Regions from separate parts of the Homo sapiens genome. Here all the other regions are linked to region 2. Evidence: promoter capture Hi-C in 16 types of primary human blood cells and fetal thymus (Javierre and others, 2016). All regions are on one chromosome and are shown on one strand. The core of a region is centred on a gene start or on the middle of the fragment in contact, and the rest is flanking DNA. Distances in the headings are between cores, read along the strand shown.

What was found. The method cuts DNA at HindIII sites, captures the fragments that hold promoters and counts their contacts. A CHiCAGO score of 5 or more calls a contact.
Region 1: a contact is called between a fragment that was not itself captured here and the fragment with the promoter of C1orf198 in region 2, in 3 of 17 cell types (erythroblasts, fetal thymus and naive CD8 T cells). The highest score is 6.8, in erythroblasts.
Region 3: a fragment that was not itself captured here is called in contact with the fragment with the promoter of C1orf198 in region 2 in 1 of 17 cell types (total B cells); the score reaches 5.4 in total B cells.

What each region holds. Positions count from the first base shown.
Region 1 is chr1:231,195,618-231,198,322 of GRCh38, reverse strand. TRIM67 (tripartite motif containing 67) reads right to left here. Exons shown (of 10, transcript NM_001004342.5): 2 at 857-952. Among named protein-coding and RNA genes, the nearest start is that of TRIM67-AS1, 9.3 kb to the right of the region's middle. The HindIII fragment of the contact is 546 bases long and covers 1,030-1,575 here.
Region 2 is chr1:230,867,124-230,869,823 of GRCh38, reverse strand. C1orf198 (chromosome 1 open reading frame 198) reads left to right here and starts at 1,303. Exons shown (of 4, transcript NM_032800.3): 1 at 1,303-1,644. The coding sequence starts at 1,312. RefSeq lists an enhancer at 740-1,331 and a silencer at 1,155-1,374. The HindIII fragment of the contact is 18,150 bases long and covers 1-2,700 here.
Region 3 is chr1:231,274,614-231,277,472 of GRCh38, reverse strand. It overlaps GNPAT (glyceronephosphate O-acyltransferase), which reads right to left. Exons shown (of 16, transcript NM_014236.4): 13 at 2,153-2,252; 14 at 1,975-2,068; 15 at 1,277-1,338. Among named protein-coding and RNA genes, the nearest start is that of GNPAT, 35 kb to the right of the region's middle. The HindIII fragment of the contact is 203 bases long and covers 1,359-1,561 here.

The sequences.
Region 1 (2,705 bases), core at 53-2,552, 330 kb before region 2:
ACATTCACACAGGAGCACCTGTGTGTGCACGTTCTCCCCTATAGACAGACCCTGAGGCACACATGGTGCCTCATTGATCTTTGTATCTTGTGCTGGGCTCAGTACATGACACAGCATAAGAGTTCAGTAAACACATTTGTTTAGAAAATGATGCATTTATATTTTGATGCATTGATGACATGGGCATATTCGGCCACAAAAGCACCATATACAGATGCCACAAAGGACGACGACATGGCACGTAGAGTGCTAGATCACATCTTTCCAGCTCTCTCTAATTGGCTCCATGTAAAAGTCCTTTCCTGTATCAGGTGTCACTTGTGTGCCAATGAGTTGAATATGTGACACTTTCAGCACCCAAGGCTATAGGGTAGGACACATAAACCTTCTAATGTCCATCACTGAGAAAATGCTTGCTACAAGACTTTTCCTTTCTTCTTCTCCTTCTTCTCCTTCTCCTTCTCCTTCTCCTTCTTCTTCTTCTTCTTCTTTTCTTTGAGACAGACTTTCTCTCTTGTTGCCCAAGCCAGAGTGCAATGGCACAATCTCGGCTCACTGCAACCTCCGCCTCCCAGGTTCAAGTGATTCTCCTGCCTCAGACTCCAGAGTAGCTGGGATTACAGGCATGCGCCACCACGCCCGGCTAATTTTTGTATTTTTAGTAGAGACGGGTTTCTCCATGTTGGTAAGGCTGGTCTCAAACTCCCAATCTCAGGTGATCTGCCCGCCTCGGCCTCCCAAAGTGTTGGGATTACAGGTGTGAGCCACCGTGCCCCGCCTCTTTCTTCTTAATACGATGCACAACGTGCAAACTTTCAACACTGAGTATTTCTCCCGACGCCAGAGCTGTGCTCACCTGGATCTGCTGCAATATGTTCTTTAGCTGAACCAGAAACTCCTTTGCTTCCTTTGCCTTATCTGAAACTCCATTTAAGGCCTGAGATAGTTGTGCCTGAAAAAGATATCACATGTTGAAAAGAAAAATTAGTTGTGAAAGGCACAGAAAATTTGCACTTCATCATAAAAGCTTATGTTTATAAGAGGGGATAGGACTGATCCCACGCATCTGCTGTTCTCATTGATGAAGGGACCACCACTGACCCATGATCTCTACAACATTTGTTTATTTTTCCAACAGTGGTAGATTGGCCTGCACTCTCCTTTCTCATCCCCAAAGCTGGATAGAGGTAAGGAGCACTCAGCTAACGGGTTGAAGCAAACAGGTCTGCCCCTGATGTTTGTAGAGCCCAAGACAAGAAGATAAATAGAGTCCTTGGCTTGGCCTGGCCCCCTCTATCCATAATCAGTACATGCCTGTATGGACATTCCAGACCCCAGGTCAGGTTCCGTCCACCCCATCCCTACACAGTCATCTCCTGGCCTGGGGTGCAAACCCTGGGGCCTGGTATGCCCTGAGGGATGGACAGGAAGGGGGCTGTGGGTCCTGGAACTGGACTAGGTGTATGGACTGGTAATCCTAGGGCATCCTCTAAAGGGGCATACAGGCTCCTAGCCTGGTACCCTTAGCCCTGGGGACTCCTCACCCTGCAGAGAGGGGTGTGACCAGCAGAAGCTTCTGAAGCATGAGGATCAGTTGCTGTGGCCCAAGGGTGAAATTGCAAGCTGAGCTCAAATCTATGGCTTTTGGCACCAGGCTTTTTTGTAACGAACCACATACACACACAATTGAATTTGTCTTTAAAACCTAGCTATTGAGTAGACTGTGACCTTGATTTTTTTTTTTTTTGAGACAGGGTCTCACTGTGTTGCCCAGGCTAGAGTGCAGTGGCTCAATCATGACTCACTGCAGCCTCAACCTCTCAGGCTCAAGTGATCCTCCCAAATCAGCCTCCAGCTAATTTTTGCATTTTTTAGTAGAGATGGTGTCTCGGAGGCTGTGTTGCTCAGGCTGATCTCAAACTCCTGGTCTCAAGTGATCCTTCCACCTTGGCCTCCCAAATTGCTGGGATTACAGGTGTGAGCCATCACGCCCATCCAGACTGTGACCCTGATTTTTACATGACTCTCATTTTCCACATTAAAAAGCTGAGGATAGAACAAAGCAGAGTCAGAAGGGCCAGGGTCTCCTTCTCCCCCAAGTCCCCTCCCAGGTCTCTGCTCAGACGTCACTGTGTCAGTGAGGACTTTCCTCACGACCTTGTGCAATATCCCCCTCGCCTTCCCCTGGCTTATTCTTCCTCCTAACAGTCGTCACCACCCAACCTAGAAAACTTGTTTGCTGTCCATCTCCATGTCCTAGAATGAAGGACAAGGGCTTTGCTGGGTGGCTCACAGCTTATCCCGGCACTGGAAGAGTACCCGGCACATGGTGGCATTCAATAAATATTTGTTGAATGCATGAATCAGTGAATGGGATTCTTTAGACCACACCAACGGTTGTCAAAGTGTGGTTCTAGACCAGCAACATCAGCATCACTGGGCGATTTGTTGAAGTGCACCGTCTCTGGCTGCACCCCAGATCTGCTGATCAGAGGTCGTGGGTGAAGCCCTGGAGTCTGCGGTTTACCAAGCCCTCCAGGGGGTTCTGATGCAGTTTGAGATCCCCTGGACTGTGCAAGTGCAGCCTCCACTGAAAACCTATGGAGAAGATGGCAAAGGAAGCCCACAAAAAGACACAGGGAGTAGGTGGAAATACAAGGAAGGGGGCCCGGTCCCCAGGAGCACCAGCACGCAAGGAGAGGTCA
Region 2 (2,700 bases), core at 54-2,553:
ACTGTCCTTAAACTTCCGGTCTCATAAATAATCCGCCACTTACTGTGGAGACTATATTTGGTGGTGCTTGCCTTTCCCTGCTTCAATATATTATGTTGTGAACATTGTTGATAATAATGTCTTTAACTGTAGAGCCTGCCACATTCATGACATTCCAAAAATATTCTGAGGATTTCTGGGCCGGAAGATGAGGCCATCTCACATTTAAAATAGGACTTTGCAAGTTATTTCTACTTTTGTGTTCAGAACTATCCAGGCAAAGACCCTGGATAACAGCTGAAATGCTGGTTTTTGTTTTTGTTTTTTTATTTTACGAGTGGACACAATTCTCACCTGAGTCCTGTTAGTCTTGTTAAAATCAGTCAGATGGAGAGAGGGGCTTGGGGGAAGTGGGGGCTCGCTATAATTTTAATTTTGTGGTCTGTCTGGGACACACCTCAAAATTACAAACCCTGGCCCCCTACCTGTTGGGATGTCGCCTCTGAGTCTGAAAACTTTCTGCTCCTCTTTGGTTTGTTTGCAAACGTCGAACTGCCAAGAGTTCTGAGCTCCTTGGGTTGGGGAAAGGCACCTGGGCCACCGGGTACTTCATGCACCCACCTGGCCCCGAGGGGCGGCGGGAGCTGACTTTCCTTGAGCACCAGATGCCCCGAACCGGTCCAGCCTTCCAGGTCGCCCTCCAGCCTCCGGGCTGCCCTGCGCCCCCGGCTATCTGCAGCTCACCGCGCCAGGCCCCGGGCCCAGCGTCCTGGACGGGCCCAGAGAAAGCAGAGAAGGTGTGGCTCGTCCCAGAAAGGGACAGAAGGAAAGGAGTAAAAACAGAAGCCAGGCAGCCAGCGGCTTGGCCTGAAATGCTGGGGCTTTCTTAGGCTCACTGGAGGTTGAAAAAAGTTTCCTTTGTCAAGCAGTGGCCACGTGGCGCTATGGCGGTCACTACCGGGAATTAACCACGGCCACCCTCTCAGAGCGCCGGGCGCGGACTCAGGGACACGCCGGCTACCACCTGAGCCGGGTAAGGGGAGCCCGAAACCTGCGGGCACCGCGGTAATCCACTATGGAGGCGTAAAGGGGGACTCGTGGGGTCCGCGAGGGGGTGGCGGGGGGGGGCCCGGAGGGAGGAGCTCCCGGGGAGGGGGCCACGGAGGGCCGGGGTCCCGGGGCTTGGGGAGCTGGGTTGGCTTGGAGACCCGGGTACGCGGCGGTGCAGGGCGGGGTTCCCGGAGGGGGCGGGGCTCCGGGTGGCGCGGGGCGGGGCGAGGGCGGGCACAGCGAGGGGCGGGGCGCGGGCCGGGAGCGGCGGGCAGGCCGGGCATGGCGTCCATGGCGGCGGCGATCGCGGCTTCGCGCTCGGCGGTCATGAGCGGGAACCGGCCTCTGGACGACCGGGAGCGAAAGCGCTTCACTTACTTCTCGTCGCTGAGCCCCATGGCCAGGAAGATCATGCAGGACAAGGAGAAGATCCGCGAGAAGTACGGGCCCGAGTGGGCGCGGCTGCCGCCCGCGCAGCAGGACGAGATCATCGACCGGTGCCTGGTGGGGCCGCGCGCCCCGGCGCCCCGAGACCCCGGGGACTCGGAGGAGCTCACGCGCTTCCCCGGCTTGCGCGGGCCCACGGGCCAGAAGGTGGTGCGCTTCGGGGACGAGGTAGGTGCGGGCCTGGCCGCGGACCCTCTTCCCCTCCCGGCGCCCCGAGGCGCCCCGGCCCGGTGGGCACCTGCCGGCGTGAGGCCGCCCCAGCTGGTAGGGGCTGGAAAAGAAAAGGCAGGAATGGCAGTGGGTGGGAGGGGAGCCCCAGAGCCGAAGTTCGGGGGGTGGGGGCTCCGCTGGGGGAGTTGGTTAAGAGATCGCCGAGAGGTGGGTCGTTAAAGAACCTCCATCTAGACCTGATCCGCCGGCTCGCACGGACTCCAGAGACTTCTCCCGGAGCTGTCGTAAGCGAGGCTGACCAAAGTGGAAACAACAAGCAATTTTAAACCAGACAAGCCTGGGTTTTAATCCAGCTCTGCTACTTACTACCTGTATGGCGGTGGGTCAATTAACTTCTTAGAGCCTCAGTTTCCACTGTGTAAAACGGGGGTAATAACGCCACCCCGTGCCTGCCCGTGAAGGGACTGAGCAAATGATATATACTAACATGAATACTTGTGATGAGATGTATGGGGAAAGTAAAATTGCCAAGCCAGGTAACAAGGAAGAAAAGGTGTCTTCCAAGATAAGGAGGGAAACCCATCCATCACCCTAAGATGTTTTCCAAGTGAGCACAATGCCCAGCGTATGTTTTAAGGGTGAGCATGGTGGCCCTGTTTTCCACCAAAAAACTAAGGGACGATAAGTTTAAATGAGCTCCAGTAAGTCTTGGCCACATAACAGGGCATGTTTAGGTCTCAGATCTAGACACTGTCCAGACTGCTAGAGGGACAGTCATTTGTGAAGGTAGAAACGCTGAATCTGTTCCAGAAAAAGCTCAGGGATGACCCACACTTAGTCACAAACGCCTGAATCTTCTGTAGGGTTCAGAAACTTGGTCTTCTTTTTCTTAGAAATGTGTTTAACCGAAGCCTGTTTGGTGCCATTAGAATTTGCACTGTGACTCTTTGGCGTTTCAAACTCAACTTTTGCCGTGAGGAGCAAAGTCAAGCTGAGCAAAGAGTGTAGGAATGAAATCGCTCGCTGTTAAGGCTGTTTCTTGGGCTAGAGGAA
Region 3 (2,859 bases), core at 211-2,710, 410 kb before region 2:
ATGAAATGATGCTGATTTTGCCCTTCCTCATACAGCTGTTCCTTGGGCGACTGTCCAGGGGAGAAGCTGGAGACTTGTGCAGAGCTTCACAGGCTGGCCAGTACCCATGGGGACGCCAGCCCCCTCCACAAGGGAAGCGGTAGATGCTCCAAGAGGTGACAGCATGGCCAGAGCCACAGGGCCAGGGCCAGGAGTTGAACCCCGTCATGTTTTCTGAACTCCAGTCCAGTATGTTCACGCTCACATCACATCTGCTTTCCGTGATTAAGTAATTGATTCCGTCACCCTCACAGGGCGAGGTGTTTGTGGTTGTTTTAGGTATATGCACCTCTTCAGACACGATATAAATAGAAGACTGGGATTTCGACCTACATATTTTTTTCTACAAGGTCTAGTACTTCCGCCTTCCCGATATGCAACAACTACCCCACTGCCCTTCTACCCTTTTCTTCATCCATTCTCCTTTTCCGTATGCCCCATTCTGGTCTTCCGCAAATCCCAACAGACATTTATCTAAAGCTCTTCCATGCAGGTTTGACGAGGTACTGAATTAAGATTAGGTACAAAAACAGTACTTGGAAGACGATCCACTCAAGGACATCACGCCATTCAATATAATCAGCAGATTATTTTTTCCAAATGTTAACACCCTCCTTTCTAAAATGGCCGCATCATTGCTAGGAAAAGTGTTCTTGACCCCCTCTGATTGTACCTCTGTTTATGTCAACACTCAAGGACTCTTATGTCAAGGAAGACAACACTCAAGGACTCTTTTTGGACTAGACTATTTCTTCATAGCTGATAGGCTCTAGAGAAGAGTAAGGGTTGGATTATTCTCCCAAGGATGTGCTATCAGCCCTAATTCTGAGTTCAGAAAGTCTACATGATAGAGACACTGACACTAATCTCTCACTTGGGAAAGAAGCAATGCAAGACAGACAGTGAGAGCATCAAACAAAGAGTGGAGATGAGGTACTCTCTCTGAGGCAAGGATGTGAAGGGTCTGGGCCTCTGGCTGAGACCAGTCATGTTAGGGACTGACTCTTTCTACTGTGTAAGACTGCTTCTTTTATGCCTGCTGTGTTTTGTTAATTTTCTTTGTGCTTTCTCGTTAGCTTCCTTGAGAAAATTCCAGACTGCATAAGTAATTCCCTTTTATGTTAGAACTCTACTACTTACTGATCATTTTGATAAAGTATTTGGTGCCACAGTATACTTTCTTATTTTAATTCATCAACAAAATGTGAAAACTTGTATTTTATTAAACTGCACTTACCAAGCATTTCTTCTAATTTGGTTGTGGCAGGTTCATTCACATTAAATATACAGTTATTATTTCTAGGAGAAAATAATAAGCTTTATTATTACATAAACTCTGGGGAAAAGACAACTTTTATATTTTGTTCCTGACGTAGCTATTGTAAGACTACTTTTCAATTGCCTTCCTCAAGGCTGGGCCTAAGTAGTCGAAAGGCCTCAGGCTCCTGTCCCACCTCCTGGCTTCTTGCTTCATTCTTCTGACCACATAAGAGACATGACTGCCAGAGTTTACTATTAAGCTTTATCACTGTTAAATTCAACCACTTAGAAGAACATACATCTATATGTTTATATATACATATACAGGTATGTATCTATATATGTATTATGTGTGTATTTATGTGTGTCTACACTCATATGCCCACTACACTCCCGAAAATCTTTCTTGTAATTATAAATTTCAACATTAAGTCAAAGCAAAAATATTGGCCTAAAGTTATTTCTTCCTTTCTTTGCTTCAGTTGCATTTCTATTCATAACCACATACAATTTTCAGGATAACTCACACTGACTTAACTAATTAGAGGATGGATAAGGAAAGTAGAATATAGCATTTCCTAGATCATCCATTTCTATGTCTCTCTGGATTTTGAGCTCAAATGTCATTCATTTCCTTGTTCCTTGAGCACTCATGGGATCTTGTACAGTACTTACATCTTCTTCTTCTCCACTACTCCGAGCCTCACACAGGCTGCTAAGGCGTTTTTCTGCACATCAGAAGATAATACATCATAACATTGAGAGGTACCTAAAATTGGGGGTGAGGAAGAGTTAGTTGACCAGTTTCTATTCTCAACTAAAAGAAATCAGCACCCACAGAGCAGTGACTGACCTTGATCGAGAAGCTGACTTGTGAATTTTCTGACTGCAGCCAAGTACTGTTCCTCACTGAAGTGGTCCTCTTCTTCACTCAAAAGGTACTTGCAAATTATCTGATTTTAAGAGGAAGGATGAGGGGAACAGAAAGAGAAAAAGGATAGCCAAGTTCAACAGAATAGTAAATAACTTTACATTGCCCCTCTTAAGAGAAGGATATATCACAAGAGAGCAGCATAAAGACCCTCCAAGGAATGAGCCCAGAAAAACCAAAGAATTTTTAGGGCATCTCCTTTGAGTTTACATTTTACAATTAGAAAAAGATTTAAAATAATAATGACATTTATTAAAGTATAATTTCTCACTTCAAGGGGTACAAGTTAATTACCATCAGCTTCGTATCTCTTATGCTACTTGGGAAGAGAGGGGTCAGATTTTAATAACTTTGCTTTTTTTCTCTAAATACACCTAAGAAAGTACCATGCCCTAAAATACTTGATGATTTCTACTGTAGAACAGTGATTAAGGGTAGAACTAGCATTTATCAAATGCTCAGTAAGTGCTAGACTTTGTGCAAGGAGGCTGAATGAGTTATTTCACGGACCACAAGCACCAGGAAGTGGGTCCAGGTGCCCAGAGCCAGTGCATGTATTATATGAACAGAGCCGAGTCACAGCATCCTCTTCTCTCAAGCATGTGGAAGTCCTTCCTACAGTTTATGTT